3 separate regions of the Homo sapiens genome follow, and all the other regions are linked to region 3. Evidence: promoter capture Hi-C in 16 types of primary human blood cells and fetal thymus (Javierre and others, 2016). All regions are on one chromosome and are shown on one strand. Each heading gives the region's core, a stretch centred on a gene start or on the middle of the fragment in contact. The rest is flanking DNA. Distances are from core to core; before and after follow the strand shown. Region 1 holds the start of RPS26 (ribosomal protein S26). Region 2 holds the start of PMEL (premelanosome protein). Region 3 overlaps ATP5F1B (ATP synthase F1 subunit beta).

The links. The method cuts DNA at HindIII sites, captures the fragments that hold promoters and counts their contacts. A CHiCAGO score of 5 or more calls a contact.
Region 1: a contact is called between the fragment with the promoter of RPS26 here and a fragment that was not itself captured in region 3, in 1 of 17 cell types (fetal thymus). The highest score is 5.3, in fetal thymus.
Region 2: a contact is called between the fragment with the promoter of PMEL here and a fragment that was not itself captured in region 3, in 3 of 17 cell types (fetal thymus, naive B cells and naive CD8 T cells). The highest score is 6.2, in fetal thymus.

Annotation. Positions count from the first base shown.
Region 1 is chr12:56,040,668-56,044,798 of GRCh38, reverse strand. It overlaps RPS26 (ribosomal protein S26), which reads right to left and starts at 2,881. Exons shown (of 4, transcript NM_001029.5): 1 at 2,630-2,881; 2 at 2,197-2,374; 3 at 1,306-1,436; 4 at 102-680. The coding sequence starts at 2,632. The coding sequence ends at 645. RefSeq lists enhancers at 2,193-2,452, 2,593-2,922, 2,371-3,160 and a silencer at 3,073-3,132. The HindIII fragment of the contact is 3,314 bases long and covers 482-3,795 here.
Region 2 is chr12:55,964,056-55,967,818 of GRCh38, reverse strand. PMEL (premelanosome protein) reads left to right here and starts at 1,777. Exons shown (of 11, transcript NM_001384361.1): 1 at 1,777-1,883. The coding sequence starts at 1,808. It overlaps CDK2 (cyclin dependent kinase 2), which reads right to left and starts at 989. Exons shown (of 7, transcript NM_001798.5): 1 at 695-989. The coding sequence starts at 810. RefSeq lists an enhancer at 1,219-1,298. The HindIII fragment of the contact is 16,386 bases long and covers 1-3,763 here.
Region 3 is chr12:56,635,995-56,639,893 of GRCh38, reverse strand. ATP5F1B (ATP synthase F1 subunit beta) reads left to right here. Exons shown (of 10, transcript NM_001686.4): 9 at 587-788; 10 at 1,471-1,719. The coding sequence ends at 1,571. It also overlaps a transcript of BAZ2A not described here. Among named protein-coding and RNA genes, the nearest start is that of SNORD59B, 5.8 kb to the left of the region's middle. RefSeq lists enhancers at 2,715-3,009, 2,502-3,013, 2,987-3,156. The HindIII fragment of the contact is 1,353 bases long and covers 1,624-2,976 here.

The DNA of each region.
Region 1 (4,131 bases), core at 1,632-4,131, 600 kb after region 3:
TTCCTCATTCTCCTAATGTTTACCCATTTTTAGGATGCCAACTTAAACTTGATGTGGTTAAATCCAAAATTCAGATGCCTAATCTCCATTTCACACAGCTATGCGAATTGTGAGGCCAACCATACGACCACAATTAAAGTTTAATTTACATAAATAGCTAGGCGAGGTGGCTCAAGCCTGTAATCCCAGCACTTTGGGAGGCCAAGGCTGGTGGATTAACTGAGGTCAGAAGTTCAAGACCAGCCTGGACAACATAGTGAAACCCCATCTCTACCAAAAATACAAAAATTAACCAGGCATGGTGGCAGACACCTGTAATCCCAGCTACTCAAGAAGCTGAGGCAGGAGAATCACTTGAACCCGGGAGACGGAGGTTGCAGTGAGCTGAGATCACGCCACTGCAATTCAGCTTGGGCGACAAAGACTCCGTCTCAAAAAAAAAAAAAAAAAAAAGAAAAAAATTAAATTACATGAATAAGCTTTCTTCCCCATGAAAATAATGTGTGTCACTTCACACTTGGTCTAACACACAAAATCCCCACCTTATCTGGCACAGATACACTTAACATGCAATATTAAGTACAATTTCCATTTTATTTTTCTCCAGAGAATAGCCTGTCTTCAGTCTTTAAGAACTCAGCTCCTTACATGGGCTTTGGTGGGGGACGTGGGGCAGCACCCTGAAAGACAAAGAAACAAAAGAGTAAATTAAAACCCATGGATCCAAGACTCCCTTCCCCCAAAGAACTTGACCACCATCCTCTCACAAACTGATGTATTCAGGCTACAAATGCATGGGAAGCTGATAGAGGTGGAGGGAGAACACTACTCTGCATCCTAAAAACCAATTCTGATTCTAACACTGCTTTGCAGTGTCTCTAAGCATGTTCAGGTGTGGGTCTCACCTGCCTTACAGCTTAACCTGAGGCACAGACCTTAATTTGATACCCCCTGCACCACAGGAGGAAGCAACTTTTTTTTTTTTTTAAGAGACAAGGTCTCACTTTTGCCCTGGCTGGAGCGCAAGTGGTATAATCATAGCTCACTGCAACCTCAAACTCCTGGGCTCAAGTGATCCTCCTGCCTCAGCCTCTCGAGCAGCCAGACTATAGGTTCACACTATCATGCTTGGCTTCCTTCTCAATATTTTTTGAAGAGATGGGGTCTTGAACTGCTGGTTTCTAGCAATCTTCTTGTCCCAGCCTCCCAAAGTGTTGAGGTTACAGGTATAGGACACCCTGACCCTCCAGGATGAAATTTTAACCATCACTCCCCTGGCTTCCATTCTCCTTTTAAAATACTCACCGCAGGTCTAAATCGGGGTGGGGGTGTTCGGTCCTTGCGGGCTTCACGAGATCGATTCCTGACTACTTTGCTGTGAATTGCACAACTCACACAGTAATGTAGCTTCACATACAGCTTGGGAAGCACATAGGCTAAGGAATAGAAAATAGAGTTATACTGGTATTATATACCTACCTTGCTTTTTTGTTACATGAATGAAGAGCACCTTACATGTTTACGTCAATTAAAACTAAACCTATTTAAATGCCTGTCGGGCACATAAAAGCACCCCCAAAGCACCTGTTCAGCCCAATACCTGAGCACATATGTATAACCCTCAGTTTTACAAGTGAATTAACATCCCACGTGAGTTCATCTTGACACCGCAAGGACCAGACTGACATTCTAAATGCAATAAACCAATAATCCAGTTCCTTCTACACCTACACCCGCCCTAATGCCTACCCTGAACCTTGCTCTTTCTATAAAAGGAAAAAAACAAAGCGACGTTCTTATTGCTCCAAACATCATCCTTGCACACCAAACTAGACGGCCTCCATTCTCGAAACGTTGAAGACATTCTTCCTCACCTGTATATTTTCACAAATATTCAAATAATCAATAGCACAAGAATTGTCAAATTTACCAAGTTTCTAGTTTTTGCAATCTCATAACCGAAACAGGCAAACCTTTACCTCAGAGTAAAGGCTGTGCACTCTATCACAAAGTCACCCTCTGCCCAGAAAAGAATCAAAACGGCAAACAAGAGAATTCTCTTCTACCAGTAACAACCTTAAATACGTGGAAATTGCCTGAGAGGCTCCAAAGAACAGAGCCTCCAAAAGGGCGAAGTTGGGCGAAGGCTTTAAGATACTGGGATCCTCACACAGTTCGCGCCGGTGACCCACTTACCATCGAAGACGCTCGCTTCAGAAATGTCCCTGACTGCTGCGGCCTCCACTATGTTTCGAATGACGAATTTCTTAATGGCCTTGTCCTTGGGCACGCATCGGGCACAGTTAGTGCAGCGAATAGGCTGCACGTGGCCGCGGCCCTTTTTGGCACGACCATTGTTCCTTCTTTTCTTTGTCTGCGACAGGATGGGAAAACTGTTAGGAAAACGGCGCAACTCACCCAGCCTCAGTCCCTTTCCGGCCACAAGCCGCACCGGCAGCCTCCAGGAAGGCGCCGCTCGGATCTCCTGTTTCTCCGCAAATCCCGCCGACCCCCAGAGCAAATGAAATGTACACTCGGTCCACCCCTCAGCCGTGCTCCAGGCTCTCACTTCCCCACAATCCCAGAGTCTGCACCCGAACCCCCACCCTCACCACGCAAGAAGACTCACCATCTTGGAGGCACGGACCGGAGAGAGGAGACGGTGCCTGGCAGGGCCCTCCTATATAGCATGAGATCCCTACGCGGACACCGGGAGAATCCTTAGGAGACGGGCTTCAAGAACGGCAACTCACTTTACTCAAATATTCCTTTACATTCAGCATTTCTGCTGAAATCTAGGGTGGAAATGCGTTCCTAGTGTTTATTTATCCATGGAACAAAGTGCACATGGGACTATTTAGCCGGATGGCGGAAGAAAATCGAGGTTATGTGTCTCCCAGCAAGCCTTGCGCCGCGCCGACTCGGAAGCAATTCTGGACGATGCAGTTTTCCGGTATACGCGACGCTAGGCGTGAAAGTTGCCAGACGCTGGACCACAAGGCGCACTCGTTATTAGAGGCCAGAGAGGGACAGATGCTTGGTGGGAATTGTAGTGCGAAGCCAAGAGGCTCCCCCCTCCCCCCCTTCCCCCCTGCCCCAAGTGCTTAGACCGAAGGCGGCGCTGCGCCACCGGGGGACGCCCTGGGCTCATTTCTCTGACAGTCCTTCTACTAGGTAGGTGTAGGATTACGAAGAGGAAGGCCTGAGAGGAAACAAGCATTTTGTGAATCCCTCCTTCCAATATGGAGAAAATCCCACAATGAAGTGCATTGAGGCTGGGGCTATTTCTCATTCATCTTTTTATCTCTGGCACAGTGCCTGGCCCTGTGGTAAGCGTCTTTATAAATATTAACTCATTTAACTTTGAGCAAGCCTATAGGTAGCTACTATTATTATCCTCACTTTAAAGATTGAAGAATTTAGCCCGGCCTGGTGGTGGGCGCCTGTAATCCCAGGTACTCAGGAGGCTAAGACAGGAGAATCTTGAACCTGGGAGGCGGAGTTTCCAGTGAGCCGAGATCGCGCCACTGCACTCTAGCCTGGGTAAAAAGATCGAAACTCTGTCTCAAAAATAAATAAATCAATTAAAAAAAAAGATTGAAGAACTGACGTGCAGTAGGTATTCTGGCTCCGCTGTACTATGCTGTATGTCACCTAACAAATGGATGGAGGAATAGCCTGGACTAATGACTTAAACGTTTTTCACCCAGATTCATAGCACGAATACATTTTACATTGGTACCCAGTACACACACAAACACGATTACATGCACATGCAAAACTGAAACACAAGCTTTATGAAACGATACTTACCCTTGTCATAGGTGTGCTGGTATGTTCTATTCTTTATTTTTACTTAATCTTTCTGTTCTCTATTTTAATAAATGCTGATCAAAAACCACGAAAATTATTTCACCACTCATTAGTGAATCTGACCCCTAATTGAAAGATTATGTGTAAGCTCCATTTACCTCTGAAGAGCCATCGGAAAGACTTAAGCCTTAGGCTGGGTGCAGTGGCTCACGCCTGTAATCCCAACACTTTGGGAGGCCAAGGCAGGCGGATCACCTGAGGTCAGGAGTTCAAGACCAGCCTAGTCAACATAGTGACACCCCACCTCTACTAAAAATA
Region 2 (3,763 bases), core at 528-3,027, 670 kb after region 3:
ACAAATATTCCTTTCCCCCCCACCTAGTCATTTCTTTCCCCCAAGGAGACACCACCCAGCACCCCCTAGGAAAGTGAGAGAAGAGAAAGGGTGATGGTAAGAGCTAATTCTTGGGTAGTCAGGGTGTGGTTTTTGGATATATTAAGGCCATTATCTCCTCTTTTCCCAGGGGTAGGTAAGTAAAGCCGCCTGGTGAAGGTGAAGCAGGGAGACTGTAATGGAGGGGAAAAAATGCAGGAGTAGCCCCCAGCCTCCCCAGAGGGGCCAGTGAGGTTCAACTGCCATTCTTTGGAAAGAGGAGAGAATTCTAAGGTGAGGGTGGGGCAGTGAAGAGGGCTCTTCATTCAGAAAGGCGATTCTCGCCGGTTCCCACATAACTCCACTCCATGGAGAGTCTTGGACCTCATCTCAGAGACCTCCTTTCTCTCCCCGAGTCTGTAGTCGCACATTTGGGGGCACGATCCGGCTCAGTTTGGGAAGAAAGTTTTCCATGGATTCCACACCACCCTATACTCTCCCCAGGGAGTATAAGTATACTCTTCACCTTCTACTGGCCCCCAACCCACCTCTCCACTTCTAAAGAAGTCCCTCCCTGCTCTCTTCCGGTCCCTGGACGGCTACCCGCCCGTGGGGGGTTGGGGGGGACAATCAAGGAGGTCCCCAGTTAGGAGTCCCGGGTACAGAGGCCACTCACGTGTCCAGGCGGATTTTCTTAAGCGCCACCACCTCTCCCGTCAACTTGTTTCTGGCTTTGTACACAACTCCGTACGTGCCCTCTCCGATCTTTTCCACCTTTTGGAAGTTCTCCATGAAGCGCCAGCGAGTCGGGTCAGCCCGGCCCTGGAGCGGGGGCCTGGGAACCCTGCAGAAGGCGGACCCTGGCTCTCGGGGGCCGAGGAGGGGGAAACAGGGCCCAGTACCGTGGCCCCGGGTCGGGATGGAACGCAGTATACCTCTCGCTCTTGTCAATTTGGCCAACTTGAAACAATGTTGCCGCCTCCCACCGAGTTCCCGACCGCCACCAGAGGCCCCGCCCCTGCTTCCCGCGTTTCCCTGGCTCCGCCCCCAGGCCTTTCTATTGGTCAACGTCAGAGCCGGGGGGCGAGCCCAGCGCTCCTCCCCGCAAATGATCCCGCCCCAGGCAAGTTTGGTTCTTGGGGGCTAGACAAGTTTCTTCCCCGGTGGGGCGGCTGAACACTCTTCCCAAGTACCTGCTTTGGGTCCAAGTTTCCTACCTATGTCTCTAGTCTGTAGGGATTTCTTGATTTCTAACTCACTATTTTCACCAATCCTGGGGAAAATATGTATCGACCTAAGGTTAAATTCCACCTGGCCCAGGAGCCTCCTTTGGAAACCAGGAAGCCGGGAATCTCGTTGCAAAGGAATCCTGGGCCTCAGAGGAGTCGTTGCCTCTGCCTCATAGCATACCCCGACACTGTCTCTGTTTTGGGATGCAGGGTTCTGTTTCTGTCTTTTTGAGAAGTTCCTGGTTTAATTCACTCTCCCATGATAAACTGTTGTGTCTGGTATGTGTTACGCAGCTGCCTTTCAGTTAGCTCTTGCCCGGGAGTGCATCAAGATGAGAGTGACCCAGTGAAACCAGAAACTGTCATTGAGTAGCAGGATGGGAAAGCAATGTCTAGGGACCAGGATCCCTTTGTCAGTTTTTCCTTTTTCCTCTCCTCCGGCCCCTCCCAGGCCTTCTCTGAGGGAGAAGAGGAAGGGCTATGCAAATGAGCACCCTTTTCTTATATAGGGGCCTATCCCAGTCCCCCCAGTGCCTTTGGTTGCTGGAGGGAAGAACACAATGGATCTGGTGCTAAAAAGATGCCTTCTTCATTTGGCTGTGATAGGTGCTTTGCTGGCTGTGGGGGCTACAAAAGGTATGTGTGGATATGTGGACATGAGCAGGTGTGAACTTGGGGATGAATTCCCCCTGCTCTGGTTTCTGTCCTCCTAATGGGAGATAGCGGCAATATTTCAGGCGTCTCCCACTCATTTGATTTAGTGAGGATGTGGGCACCTGGGCTCCCTCCCTACATGGAGATTTGGGATTTTGCCTGAAAATAATCTCATATGCTTGGAGGGGCAGAAGGATAGAAGGTCTCTGTGGCACTGATTCTGAGGCTTCCTTGGCAGTGAGCTGGAGCACGGGCTCCAAAGGGGTGAAATGTGCAGGAGACTCTTTTAGGAAACGTCTCTTGGGGTAGGAGATTTAAAGTGGGGAGTCAGAGAATGTGGTATTGGGTAAGAACACTAAGGAGATACAATCCTCTCCTCTTGGGATGGGTACGGGTGAACACAGCCCAGACCTTTTGTTCTGGGGCTGGAGAGATAGGCAGAGGGGTCTCAGCTGAGCATCACATGAAAGGGCTCTGGGGGATTGGGCCTCGTGACAGGAGCAAGGGGCGGGGGTGGGGTGGTGAGAGGGTCTGGAATGTCCCGTGCTGCTCTGAGGAGAGTTGGAAGTGGAGAAAGAATGGGGTATCTTATGACTTCTCTTGTTCTAGTGGTGGGATGCTCAATAGATGATTCCAGATCCTCCCCCAGCAGAATCAACTAGGGTTACAGCACACATTAGAAAGGGAATGAGGCCGGGCGCCGTGGCTCACGCCTGTAATCCCAGCACTTTGGGAGGCTGAAGCAGGTGGATCACGAGGTCAGGAGTTCGAGACCAGCCTGGCCAATATGGTGAAACCCCCGTCTCTACTAAAAGTACAAAAATTAGCTGGGCATGGTGGCACATGCCTGTAGTCCCAGCTACTCAGAAGGCTGAGGCTGGAGAATCACTTGAACCCAGAAGGCAGAGGTTGCAGTGAGCCAAGATCACACCAATGCACTCCAGCCTGGGTGACAGAGCGAGTCTCCGTCTCAAAAAAAAAAAAAAAAAGAAAGGGGATGAGGCCCGGCACAGTAACTCATGCCTGTAATCCTAGCACTTTGAGAGGCTGAGACGGGTGGATCACTTGAGGTCAGACCAGCCTGGCCAATATGGTGAAACTCCATCTCTACTAAAAATACAAAAATTAGCTGGGCATGGTGGTACGCACCTGTAATCCCAACTACTTGGGAGGCCGAGGCATGAGAATCGCTTGAACCTGGGAGGCAGAGGTTGCAGTGAGCCGAGATCACACCATTGCATTCCAGCCTGGGCAACAGCAAGACTCTGTCTCAAAAAAATAAAAAAAGAAAAGAAAAGAAAAGAGATAAGGAGGCCGGGTGTAGTGGCTCACACCTGTAATCCCAGCACTTTGGGAGGCCGTGGTCATAGGATTGCTTGAGCCCAGGAGTTCAAGACCAGCCTGAGCAACATAGTGAGACCTTGTCTCTACGAAACGTAAAAAAATTAGCCAGGCCTAGGCCAGGCTTGGTGGCTCACGCCTGTAATCCCAGCACTTTGCGAGACCAAGGCAGGTGGATCAGCTGAAGTTGGGAGTTTGAGACCAGCCTGACCAACATAGAGAAACCCAGTCTCTACTAAAAATACAAAATTAGCTGGGCGTGGTGGTGCATGCCTGTAATCCCAGCCACTCAGGAGGCTGAGGCAGGAGAATCGCTTGAACCCGGGAGGCGGAGGTTGTAGTAAGCTGAGATCGTGCCATTGTACTCCAGCCTTCCAGCCTGGGCAACAAGAGCGAAACTCTGTCTCAAAAAAAAAAAAAAAAAAAATTAGCCAGGCTTGGTGGTGAGCACCTGTGGTCCTAGCCACTTGGGAGGCTAATGAGGAAGATGGCTTCAGCCTAGGAGTTTGAGGCTGCAGTGA
Region 3 (3,899 bases), core at 1,051-3,550:
GATTTGTTTTGGAGCAAGGAAAGTTGAGGCTGGCAATTGCTAGTGAGAGCTAATGAGGTCTCTTGAGTTTCCAGGTACTTAACGCTTTGGAATGCAATATTTTTCTTTCTTTTTTTTTTTTTTTGAGATGAGTCTCACTGTGTCTCCCAAGCTGGAGTGCAGTGGTGCCATCTCGGCTCACTGCAACCTCCGCCTCCCAGGTTCAAGCGATTCTCCTGCCTCAGCCTCCTGAGTACCTGGGATTACAGGTGCGCGCCACCATGCCTGGCTACTTTTTGTATTTTTAGTAGAGACCAGGTTTCATCAGTTGGTCAGGCTGGTCTCGATCTCCTGACCTCATGATCCACCCACCGTGGCCTCCCAAAGTGGTGGGATTACAGACGTGAGCCACTGCGCCCGGCGGAATGCAATATTTTTCTAACAGCACCAAACTAGGACTATGGAGAACAAGACACTGATCTTTCTTGGCTGAGGGCCCTCATAACACCACCACCTTCTCTGCCCCCTAGCATGTAACTTTCCCTTTGTTAGCTTGTCCAAATTAAAGGAATGAGAATACTTAACTCAGTCTTCTTTTTTCTCATAGGACTACAAATCCCTCCAGGATATCATTGCCATCCTGGGTATGGATGAACTTTCTGAGGAAGACAAGTTGACCGTGTCCCGTGCACGGAAAATACAGCGTTTCTTGTCTCAGCCATTCCAGGTTGCTGAGGTCTTCACAGGTCATATGGGGAAGCTGGTACCCCTGAAGGAGACCATCAAAGGATTCCAGCAGATTTTGGCAGGTGAGATTTTGAGTACAAATCTTGAATGTTTACTGTGCTGTGGTCCCATTCCAACAACCGTCAAGCAATATATGTAATATACTATGCTTAATTATATTTTTTAATTTAAAAAACAAACTTACCCATTGATTTTGTTTGAAAATACTCTACATTTAATTTGAGTGTGATTTGTTACTTGATTCTCTAGCTCCCTTTTATTTTATATGTATTTTTTGAGACTGAGTCTCTGTCGCCCAGGCTGGAGTACACTGGTGCAATCTTGGCTCACTGCAACCTCCACCTGCCGGGTTCAAGTGATTCTCCAGCCTCAACCATCCAAGTAGCTGGGATTACAGGCACACGCCACCACGCCTGGCTAATTTTTGTATTTTTAGTAGCCATGGGGTTTCACCATGTTGGCTGGGCTTGTCTCGAACTCCTGACCTTAGGTGATCCGCCTGCCTTGGCCTCCCAAAGTGCTGGGATTACAGGTGTAAGCCACCGTGCCTGGCCCATGTGTTCTTAATTCATACTGTATCATATCTTGTAAATTTGATTTGTGAGGGAAATTTAAGCTTTCTAAGATGACATGAATTCATCACATTCTAACTGATGGCCTGAAGTGGTGAGGAATGTTACATGATGCAGAAAGTTGATATCCCTCCGCTTCTTACTCTTTTTTTTTTTCTCCCCCATCATACAGGTGAATATGACCATCTCCCAGAACAGGCCTTCTATATGGTGGGACCCATTGAAGAAGCTGTGGCAAAAGCTGATAAGCTGGCTGAAGAGCATTCATCGTGAGGGGTCTTTGTCCTCTGTACTGTCTCTCTCCTTGCCCCTAACCCAAAAAGCTTCATTTTTCTGTGTAGGCTGCACAAGAGCCTTGATTGAAGATATATTCTTTCTGAACAGTATTTAAGGTTTCCAATAAAATGTACACCCCTCAGAATTTGTCTGATTCTCTTGGTTCTGACAACATAGTCAACACTGAAGGGTTATGTATTTAATTTTAGTTTTAGAGACACGGTGTCTGGCTGTGTTGCCAAGACTGGTCTCTAACTCCTGGGCTCGAGATCTCCCACCTCAGTCTCCTGAGTAGCTGGGGCTACAGGTGTATGTAGTCTCACATCACCAGCACTGTTTTCAACAATTAGATTTTTAGAGTGGCTATAAGAAGCAGTTTCAGCATGAAGTGGGCCATGTATGTTTGAAATTGGTCCTTAAAAATAGCCATTCTCTTTTGTTGATGGACAACCGTACCTCTTGTGAGGGGTTTCCTGTGGGTAGTGTGATCTTAGTAGGGCCTCAGTTTTGGGCCTTTTGTTCAATACAAATTGATTTTTTTTTTTTTTTGGCCTCTATTCCATGTGGCACATCCCTACTTCTTGGTTAAAAATAGGACTTTTTTGAAGGGCATATTGGGAAAAACTCGTTTTAGAAATAACTTATTTCCAGGGGTTAATCTGAGTTTAATGAATTAAATTTTCAAGAAATAGTGATGAAGAATACTGATCTTTGTTAAAATGGAATCAAAAGGGTTCTCTACATCTTGGTTAGGCCTTCATGTCTTCAGAAAGTGTACTTAACTACTTCCTGACATTTTGGGCAAGCCTAAATAAAAGTTGCTTGTGATTCCTTGAGGCTATGCAGAGGCATATAATACCATAAGGCCTAGTCCACCCTCTGTGAAGATCCCCTTATGAAAGTCCAGAAAAGATAATCTTACAAGGGAATAGCAATTTTCAGAGTTGCTGGCTTGGGCTTCTAAACTAATGAAGTTAGGTTATTTTCCCTTCATTTTAGCCGACTGAGAGGTGCAGGGGTAGAAGATATATTTTACCATTTCAATTTAAAAGAAGCGTGCAAGGTCAGATTGGGTTCCTCTTGTGTTCTTTTCCGGGACCAGACCCATCCGACTGCCCTCTCGCGGTAGCACTGGAGACTCTGCAAGAACTCTGATCCCATTTTCAAATCCATGAAGGCCATTTGCTGGGATGTGGCTCTCAGTTAAAGACTGTTTACAGACCAGCTGGGGCTTTTGTCCTGGGGAGGAGCCTGTATCTATAAGCTCCACCCGCTGAGTCCATCAAGTTAGGTAGAAGCTGGGCGGGGACAAGCTGAGCTCCAATTCAGAGGCCCCTGGGGGCTGAAGGTTGGGGAGGGCTTTTTGGCGCGGGGCCAGGGGTGGAGTAGGGGCCTCTAAGCTTCCTTCCATCTGCCTGTGACGTCCTTGGCAGCAGCCTCTCCCGCAGTCTCTCCTGTGTCATGATCTGGACAGAAGGTGGAGCCCCTGAGCTGCTTGTGCTGGTAGTTTGCTCCCAGAAAAGCTGGGATTTGGGGAAATGCTGAGTTATGGGGGTGTGGACACTTCCTCTAGGTCCTGACTCTGGAGTGGGTAAGAAGCTGGTAGAAAAAGCCCTAGGGTACAGGTCAGCCCTTTCTGCTTTGTTTTCTCACGTCACCCGATACAGACCTGGGAACTGAAATCCTAAAGGTCTTTTGCATCCCTCCACCCCTTCCCCCAACATGTTCACGTCCTTCAGCGTTTATCGAGAACCTTCTCCCTCTCAGTAGCTGCAACTATTTGTTTCCTTCCCCCTTTGCCGGCCTCTTCTACCATGCCACTGGAGTGTCAACACAGCTCTCTAACCTTCCTCCATATTTCTCCTGGTCTGCCCTGTCCTCGCCTCCTCCCTCTCTCCACCCAGAGAAAGCCCCGCCCTTCCCTCCTCCCTCCCCACCCCAGTCTGTCACACAGGGACATCACCCTACAGCAGTTCAGGCTGTGTGGTTCGCAGGAAGCATACACTGGCTTTTTGATTCTTGCTAGTTCCCAGCTCACAGTTTGGGAGGATCCAACACCAACCTTTACGTGAAGTGGAGGCCCAAGGACAGTGAGGAGCTGGGTGGTCCCAGCCTGGAGCTGTGCCAGCCTGACATGGGTGAGTATGGGGACCAGCCCCGGGGAAGGCCTGAGGGATGCCTACTCCCTCCCTGGCTGACTCAGCAGGGGTGGGGCCTAACCTTTGCTCATTTGGGGGCTGAAGGAGAGGAAACAGGACTCTGGGGGACGGGGGGCACAGGGCTCAGCTAGCGAGGCTGCCGACCACGGGATCCTGAGTATGGGCA